2 separate regions of the Homo sapiens genome follow, and region 1 is linked to region 2. The links are contacts of gene promoters, found by promoter capture Hi-C in blood cells and fetal thymus (Javierre and others, 2016). All regions are on one chromosome and are shown on one strand. Each heading gives the region's core, a stretch centred on a gene start or on the middle of the fragment in contact. The rest is flanking DNA. Distances are from core to core; before and after follow the strand shown. Region 1 holds the start of SERINC1 (serine incorporator 1). Region 2 holds the start of NT5DC1 (5'-nucleotidase domain containing 1).

Evidence for each region. The method cuts DNA at HindIII sites, captures the fragments that hold promoters and counts their contacts. A CHiCAGO score of 5 or more calls a contact.
Region 1: the fragment with the promoter of SERINC1 here is called in contact with the fragment with the promoter of NT5DC1 in region 2 in 1 of 17 cell types (activated CD4 T cells); the score reaches 6.4 in activated CD4 T cells.

Annotation. Positions count from the first base shown.
Region 1 is chr6:122,470,137-122,474,922 of GRCh38, forward strand. It overlaps SERINC1 (serine incorporator 1), which reads right to left and starts at 1,671. Exons shown (of 10, transcript NM_020755.4): 1 at 1,563-1,671. The coding sequence starts at 1,601. It also overlaps a transcript of PKIB not described here. RefSeq lists enhancers at 1,321-1,720, 1,771-1,830. The HindIII fragment of the contact is 8,379 bases long and covers 1-4,148 here.
Region 2 is chr6:116,098,085-116,102,454 of GRCh38, forward strand. NT5DC1 (5'-nucleotidase domain containing 1) reads left to right here and starts at 2,769. Exons shown (of 12, transcript NM_152729.3): 1 at 2,769-2,939. The coding sequence starts at 2,847. It also overlaps a transcript of FRK not described here. RefSeq lists enhancers at 2,429-2,951, 2,952-3,472 and a silencer at 2,585-2,844. The HindIII fragment of the contact is 3,203 bases long and covers 1,386-4,370 here.

The sequences.
Region 1 (4,786 bases), core at 421-2,920, 6.4 Mb after region 2:
CAGTTCCAGGCTGCAGTTCACTACGACCATCCCCTGCACTTCAGCCCGGCCAATACACTTAGACCCCCATCTCTAAAAAACTGCCTCACTGCTTCTACCTTTTTAATGTACTTCGCTATTAACACAGAAACTAAAAGGCAGGGTCAATTTTATCACGGACATTCTTCTAATCAATAAAGGTGGCGATCTATTTTGTAAAAGGGAAAACATGTATCTCATCTTTTAAATCTCTATTATATACAAAAAACTACAGCACGCCCACTTCATAACTGGACAAGATACGACATTACAAATTGAATTGCATAACATCTTCCAATAAAAAACCGATGAAAACAATCTTATATGATAATCAATTATCAGTTTTCAAAACTGTTTATCACACTAAATATGCCTCTTTTGTATAAAAGTCAATAATTAAACTCTCTAATATCTTGAGATAAAATATTCCAGGCTTCCGTGCAAGAAGAAATACCATATAATCAAAAGAACAGACTGGCTGGAGTAACAATCCCCACATTATTATTTGATTAAAATTCAACATTTTTAGTTCAAGACATATCAAAACCTTTAAGAGTATATATAACGGAATCATTTGGGAAGTCAGAAAAGCAATTGTTAGAAACAGAATTAACAAATTCCAGACTAAAGAAAAGTGATTTGAGTCCAAATACCTCGCCTAAAATTACAAATATCTTTATTAACTGCACTGCCAATGTTTTGCCTACTATTTTGGAGGGGGCAGAGATTATCTTAAATAAACTGAAATTTGTGCCACACGGACCAAAGTCTTGCCACTATACTGAAAATAGTTTTACTCTAACAACTCTTTAATGAAAATGCAATGTACAGCTAATTAAGCATGAAATTTCAGATGACACACGCATGTTTTGTGCCTAAAGACAAAATTGTCATTAGGCACAAGGCATGCGTGTGTCATCTGAAATTTCAATTTTAAGTTGAAATCTGAAATTGACACTTCAAACAGTTACGGCAGAGCTATGACTATTTGTTTCAAAAACAATATTACTACATTAGCATTACTGCCAGGCGGTTCCAAATGACGACAGGCACTTTTTAATCATAATCTGCGCCACTGAACAAAGAGGGCGACATGAATCCAGGAACGACAGTGCGGCAGTCTGAGGTCGCCAGGAAAGAGATGACAACAGAGTGGGTACCCCACCGAAGGAAAGGGGCAAAGACCTTTGTAGAGATGGCCTGCGCAGATACAAACAAAACCACGAAAAGGGACCTCAAAGAATGGGAGACAGCGTTCACGAAGCAGGGGTGGGGGAGGGGCCCTATTCTAGTTCTCTTCCTCAATTTGAGTCATCTTCCCATCGCCACTAAACCTTACGGCCAGTGATCAGTTCTTCGCAAGACCCAAAGCTCTGAAGCTGAGTCTGAGTGACGAGAGGAGACGGGAAGAAAACGGGGACAGAGAGGGCACTCCCTGTTGGGTGGGGCACCACATTCCCGCCGGGCTCACCCAGCCCCGGCTCGGATCGCCTTCTCTTTGGTCTCTCACACTAGCACCCCAGAGGCCGCAAAAAGCACCTTACCCAGCTCGCCATGGAGCACAGCCCCAGGACGCTCCCCATCTCCACAACGTCACAAGAGCAGCGGATACAGACAAGATGGAGACAGCTTCTTTCTCGCCTTTCCGAGATTATTTACTATCTGCGAGACACTTCCGGACGCACAGCGCAACCCGCCCCTCAGCCTCGCGTCACTTCCTTCCAGGCCTGGGTAGGATAAAACACGGAGCGCGCAGCGCTGAGACTGCGCATGCGCGTCACTAGACGACACGGCTGTCTTCTTTCCTGGAGAATTTCTCAAGGACTGCTGGCTGGAAACTTAACGGCTAATGTGGATCTGACCGTAGTTTGCCAAATTAAGAAAACGGTGTGAGCAAAACCCACCTTTACCTACCATGCACTTGCATTTGGGCATTAGTAGAGAACAGAGCTGAGGTGGTGGTTGACGTTTTGCCCTCCTTCATCTGAGGAACCTCTCTGCTTTTTAGGGGATTGCTTCCTCTTTCTCAGTCTTTGTCCGTCCTAACTCCACTTATTTCCCATTTTTCCCACGTTTGCATCCTGTTTTGCTCTTGCGTTTGCAACGTATTCCTGCAGCCCGCTGCCCGGAACAAGTTTTATTGGGATATTTATATTCATCTGTGTGCTTCAGTTTCTCTGTATCATTTCTGTTTGCTATTGACTTATATTTTAATTTCTTATGCTATTAAGATGTTACAAGAAATTTGCACGTTAAAATTATTTTTAATTAGTTAGATAAGACATTATCAAACTCAAACATTGATTTCGAATGTCATGAGCTGTTGAGGCATGTGGAACCCTTGCATATTAGGTGATGATGCACATCTGCAGGGAATGCATTCCTATAAAAGTTCCAGTTATTTTTTTAGAGTTATTTGTTCTTGAAAATATTCTGGGAAACAGCTCAAACTTGAAATAGTCATTCCCATAACTAATAATAAGAAAGTGTTGTAAAATCTACAAAAATTGCATGGGTCGAGGTGGGGTAAACACCTAAGAATCTGGAAGAATGTCAGAATCCCTACTCCTAGTTATTGTAACCACTAAGGGACAATCTTGCTTTATTCTTCTTTGCCTTATCTGTGGTTTTGTAGACCACTCTTAAAGCAAAGTATTATAATAGAGCATCCATAAGGTTTAAAGAATTGTGGAAATGCTTGTAATCCCAGAACTTTGGGAGGCTGAGGCAGGCGGGTCACAAGGCCAGGAGTTCAAGACCAGCCTGGCCAGCATGGTGAAACCCCATCTCTACTAAAAATACAAAAAATTAGCCGGGCATGGTGGCACGCGCATGTAATCCCAGCTACTCGGGAGGCGAGGCAGGAGAACTGCTTGAACCCGGGAGGCAGAGGTTGCAGTGAGCCGAGATTGGGCCACTGCACTCCAGCCTGGGCTGCAGAGCGAGACTCCGTCTCAAAAAAAAAGAATAGTGGAAATGGAAATTACAAACCTAACAATATTTTTAATTATGCTAAACTTAATACGTTATTTATGGGAGAAGAGAATCCTAGTATCTCAAGTCCTTAAACTTTTCAAAGTACCAGAGAAGGAGACAAAAAACACTTATATGTGAGTAACTTTAAGGTCGTAAAGAATATGTTTATTAGCCAAATGGAGAATGGGTCTCTTAAAATTTAAATTTGCACAGATTCTTGTCTCTTGCTCCATTTAAGAGGGTTTCTGAGATATTCATAAGTTCTTGCACTATTCAATAGAGTTTTTTCACCTGAGATATTCAGAGTTAAATACAAAAGTCATATTAATCTTTCTGGAATGTAACACTTGGCCTTGAAATACATTAAAAAAAATTTACTTTTATTTAACCTGTAGGCTATGTGGAGTGGAATTTGCTCACTTAAGTTATTATATATACAACATTAATTGGACACGACAGTATATATAGACTATTTTATTCGTTAGAAGAGTCTTCGACACCAGTCTCATTTTTCTCTTTGCCAACTATGAAAGAAAATTGAAATGATGACTTTTTCAAATTTCAACCCAAACACAGCTCAAAGCATAGTTTTCTCAATATATACCAGCTATTAGTAGGAGCACCCATTTCTCCAGGTGACTTCCTGTAGCACACGTATAACTTACAATGCCAAAATTCAAATTAGTCTAAGTAAGTACGTTAGTAAAAAACATTCTATCTAGCTGAGCATGGTGGCTCACACCCATTATCTTAGCACTTTAGGTGGCTGAGGCGGGCAGATCACCTGAGGTCAGGAGTTCCAGACCAGCCTGGCCAACATGGCGAAAACCTGTCTCTACTAAAAATACAAAAATTAGCAGGGCATGGTGGCACACCTCTGTAATCCCAGCTACTCAGGAGGCTGAGGCTGGAGAATTGCTTGAACCCAGGAGGCAGAGGTTGCAGTGAGCTGGGATCGTGCCACTGCACTCCGGCCTAGGTGATAAGAGCAAAACTCTGTCTCAAAACAAACAAACAAACAAAAAAGCCATGCTATCTAATAACTCAGTTCTCTGACTTGATTAAGGGCTAGTATGCCAAAAAACAAAAAAATTGGAATATTGATTTTTTTGAGAATGTTACTAAGTAGCCATGCTGGAAGAAGTTTTCAGATAAGCTTGGATGGTACTGCCTGTTACATTCTTCTCTTGTGACTGATGTTGCATATTAGCATGTTCAATTCCTTCACTCCTAATGTTTTCTAAACTTGACCTTAAAAAATCTTTTTTTCTTATGAAATGTATTAATATGCACTGTAAGTGTTCCATGAAATATAGTTTAAGAAATACTGATGGAGGGAAGGATGGACTTCATAGCCTTCTGGCAGCCCTCCTAGAATATCTTTTCTCATAATTAAACTTTTGATCCATATGTGGCATCAGAGAGCTGAAGGTTATGTTTGTTGTCAAGAATCAGAGCATGAATGCTCTGTGTTGTCAATTAAGGACAAGACATAGACTTTAACATTCAAATAAATGGTATGTAAAATTAATAGTCTCTTAGGGAAATTCAGGAGAAAGACCAAAATACTTGTCAGAATAGACATGCACAGAAATGGGCTGGGAGATCTGTGGAGTACTATAGACAGGCTTAAGGTTTTCCTTAGAAGATAGTCCAGGTTCATTCTTACATATAGGTAAATGAATTCTCCCAGATAAACTATAGTTGTGACTATTGTACCCTGAGAAAAATGTAAAGCAGGATTACGAAGCTTATCCTAGCCATAGTAAAAATTTCAATAATGGATTCACAA
Region 2 (4,370 bases), core at 1,519-4,018:
TTGGCTTACAGACAGCTTTTTTTTTTTTTTTTTTTTTTTTTTTAAAAGACAGGGTCTCTCTCTGTCACCCAGGCTGGAGTGCGATGGCCTGATTCCAGCCCACTGCAACCTCTGCCTCCCAGGTTCAAGCGATCCTCCCACCCCAGCCCCTACAACAGCTAGGACTATAGGTGCCTGCCACCATACCCTGCTAATTTTTGTATTTTTTCTAGAGATGGGTCTCGCTATGTTGCCCAAGCTGGTCTTGAACTCCTTACCTCAAGCGATCTGCCTACTTTGGCCTCCCAAAGTGCTGGGATTACAGGTGTGTGCCACGACGCCAGGCAGACAGCCGTGGTTTTGTGGCTCCTCACATGGCCTTTCTTGTGTGCTTGAAAACTCTGGTGCCCCTTCCTCTTCTTACAAGAATGCTAATCCTGTTGGATTAGGGCTCCACCCTTATGGCCTTATTTAACATTAATTACTTCCTTAAAGGCCCTATGTCAAATATAAACACATTGTGGGTTAGGTCTTCAACACATGAATGAGTGGGGGACAAAATTCAGTCCATGATACTCAAAGAAACAGAAATTAATTGGTATCTAAGTAGAAGACTGAACTTGTAGTTGATAATACAAGAGCTGTGGCATTTTATCAGTAAGTGTGATAAAAGTTTAATGTGCAGGGAAAATGAAATATCTTTATCCAAAAATAAGCCTTATGAAACAATTAAACTGAGTGTTTGTATTTAAACTCAGGGTTATGTAGGGAATGGGAGAAGAGAAGGGAACCATCCCCTATATTTCTGGAAGAGTCAGACTGAGGTTTGAGGTACAAAGGAAAGGTGAGTGGGGCTCAAGAAAGAGTACAAGCCTCTAGGATTGGATCATTTGCAAAATTCTCCCACAAAGTTTAAATGATGTGGACTCTCTAGCACAAGAACTGTTTGTGCAAACATGCAGAATATATATAATTTGTTAATCAGCAAGTACATAAGATTGTTGATGTGCATGTAATAGCCAGATCCAGTCCCAGGACCACTTGGTTATCGACCCAGGGGTCTTTTTCTCTTTAAGAGTGCCCTGGTTCCCTCTCTCCCCTTACCCCAAGTCAATTTCCTGTTCACAATTCAGCACACTCAAGAGGTTTTGTAAGGAGAAGTTTTTGCTAAGTCAACAAAAAACAATCCTTTTATACTCTTCCCTCTTACAATGAATGTACTAGTACATTTGTATTACTAAGGGAAGTCCCTAAAGTACCTAAAGCACCTACTCCCACATGAAACAAGATATTCCCCAAGGAAACATGTGCCCTTCAATGTGGCATGCACCTGGAAGTTTGACTTTGGTAGCATTCTATTGCAAGGTGCAGAGGAGAATGCCAAGGTCAATGCTCCAGGGCCAACAAGCTTTTTCCAGCCTCTCCAACAATCCAGCCTTTTCTCTTTTGGTTCACAGACATTGAAAACATGATTGTTGGACTCATCAGTGAACAGCTTAATCTTCTTGAAGATTCTTTACTTTTCCTATTCCAGAGAGATTTGTTTGGGGCTTTTAAGTGTTATAATGGAACAAGTTATCAATTTTATTCAAATGGGTCTACTAGGTATAAGTGTCCTCCTACTCAATTGTACTATCTATTGCACTAAATTAATCCTCTGATTGGTCTATTAGCCTCAGAAGGATTAGTATTTGAAAGGGTTAAATGCAGTTCTCAATCAATTATATTTTCATTATGTCACGACTATTGATTTGTCCCATTAGACACATTGTTCCTTTAAATTGAGAACTGAAGCAGTGTAAACATAATAGATTTGTATTTTCTTTTTAAAATGAGGTACTATGTAATAAAGATCTCAAAGTGCTAGTCCTTCACATCCGGAAATCAGGAAGAGAATTAAATGCCCTAAGGCATACATTGTATGTAATGGATTAACTTTCTCTGCATCTAAAATGGTAGTAGTTATACAGTTCTTGAGAGAATTAAGCAAATGTCACTCAAAACATTTTGTGCTCTATAAACCTTAAACCCGGTTTGCAAAAGTTTTTTGTAGTATGCTCTATATATTTCTATGAAGTTTCTGATGCCCTTTCATAAAAAATTCATTACAATAACAAAATAGGATTATCAAGTAATAACCAATATTGGTTTCCATAACAAGTATCATCTTGCAAAATGGTTCTTCACGATGTCTGATACATTTATTTTCTAACGCACTCCAGGGTATGAAATAGTGAAAGGTCTGTCTTCCACTTAACCACTTAGGAAACCAAGGAATATAAAGTTTTTGGTTTAAACCACTATCAAAGATCACGTGGGTGAAAAGACCTTCCAAATTGTAGGCTAACTGGGTCAGAGGGATATTAGCGGATGAATTTTTTCTATGATCTTACTATTCCTCACACAGGGGTAAAAGGTCAGGTCTAACCTCATGATCTCCTGGTTTCCGAGGCGCCCTGAGGCGATGGAGTGTCCCGGTTAATTTTGTGGTAGCCCTCGGGAAAGGCTACGTGCCTACAGGTCTCAGCTGTGCAGCAGCGGCACCGCTCCTGGACCCCTACTGCCTTCTGGGCTCCTAGGCTTGCGGAACAGATCAGGAGTCGCCGGCATTGGGGTACCAGGAGGACGCGAGCTGACTACCTGACTCCGGGCGGCGCAGGACGCCCGCCGCGCGAGGGGCGGGGGCTAAGCGTATCGAGGGGCGGTGCTCGAGGGCGCGGGAGGCGGGAGAGGCTGCCGCGCCGTGTGCCCTGGCAGCCGCAGCCCCGCCCCGCCGCGTCCGGCCCGGTCCTGTCCCGCAGCGTCCCGCCAGCCAGCTCCTTGCACCCTTCGCGGCCGAGGCGCTCCCTGGTGCTCCCCGCGCAGCCATGGCTCAGCACTTCTCCCTGGCCGCCTGCGACGTGGTCGGATTCGACCTGGACCACACTCTGTGTCGCTACAACCTGCCCGAGAGCGCCCCGGTGAGTGGCGCGGGCTCCGGGGCGCACTGCGCGCAACCTCCATGGCGGCTGGGGCTTGAGTTTCCTCCAGGTTTGGGCAACGGCGGACGCTGCCCGGGGCCTGCGGCGGCCGAGTCTTGCCGCAGAGCGCGGCCTCCAGCGGCGAGAAGGGGCGGAAGTGTGCAGCCTCCGCTCCGCGCCGGTGCCGTGGGGACCGGCACATTTACCTCAGCCATTAGCTAATGTTGAGAGGGATAGGGAAGAACGAAGGAGGGGCAAACTGCGCAAGACCGGGCTGGGGAATCGGTGATTTCTAGGGCCGAGGAGGGGCGGGGTCAGGGGGACTAGGGCTGTCCTTGAAGATCTCACGTCGTGGAACTTTCTCTGCATGTCTTTCTGGACACCAGCTGATTGTGGACACAGCCACTTGATTTGGTACTTGCATTTTTTTTGGCTGCATTTTTCTGTTTGCACGATCAACCACCCATCAGTGTTTAAACTGCAATCTGGGAGAGATGCGTAGTATATAGTGTAGTGTATTGAAAGGAACACTAGTTGAAAAGTCATTAAGATCTTAGCCCTAGTTTTACCTTCTATCAAGAGAAGAAAATACATATTTATTGCGCATCGACTACGTGCTCCGTGCACTTTGAATACATTCCAGTCCTACCAACAGTCTGCGAAGTTTGGGTCCTCACTGTGCCCTGAGGGAGGGGGACATGGAGTATGCATGCTTCCAGACCTGTACACTCAAATTAATTGCCCTCCCTCCACTATTCCTTTGGTTTCCCAATTCCCAAGGAAACTAATTTTGAAAAGTTACCAGATTTTTTTAGTCCAAGATCTAAGCATCCAGACAGAAAAAGAGCTGGTTATGAGTACAGTGGTGAAAGCGAGGACTCCTCAGCCAGACTGCCTAGCTTAGGACACCAGCTCCACTGTTACTAGCTCTGTGACTTCGAGGAAGTTACTTAACCTGTGCTGCTTCTCAGTTTCCCCATCTGTAAAATGGAGCTAATAATTGGATTTACCTCACAAGATTGTTGCAAGGATTAAATGAGTAAGAGATGTATAATGCTTAGAATAGTACCTTGGCAAAGACAAGTGTTTGCTTTTATGGTTACCACCCAAACTATTTGGAAACCTCACAGTTTATGGGTAGAACTCTAGATCACTGGTGCAGACATCAGCCAGGGTTGTGCCCCATTATGGGCACCCGCCAGTTCCTGCACCCACCAGTTCAGGTACACGTTAAAGGTCAAAAAAGAGTGGCTGCCCGAATTTCTCGTGTGTTTTCTATGCCCAGATGCTAAATTTTTTTTTAAATGTCCTTTTTCTGCTGTTACACTTTCCTGCTTTCTTACCTTACAGGTCTGGTTTCCTTAGTCACATTGAGAATTAAGAAGGCTTTTTTACTGCTTGATTCTTTGGCCACTGCTTCCCCTAGGTCTT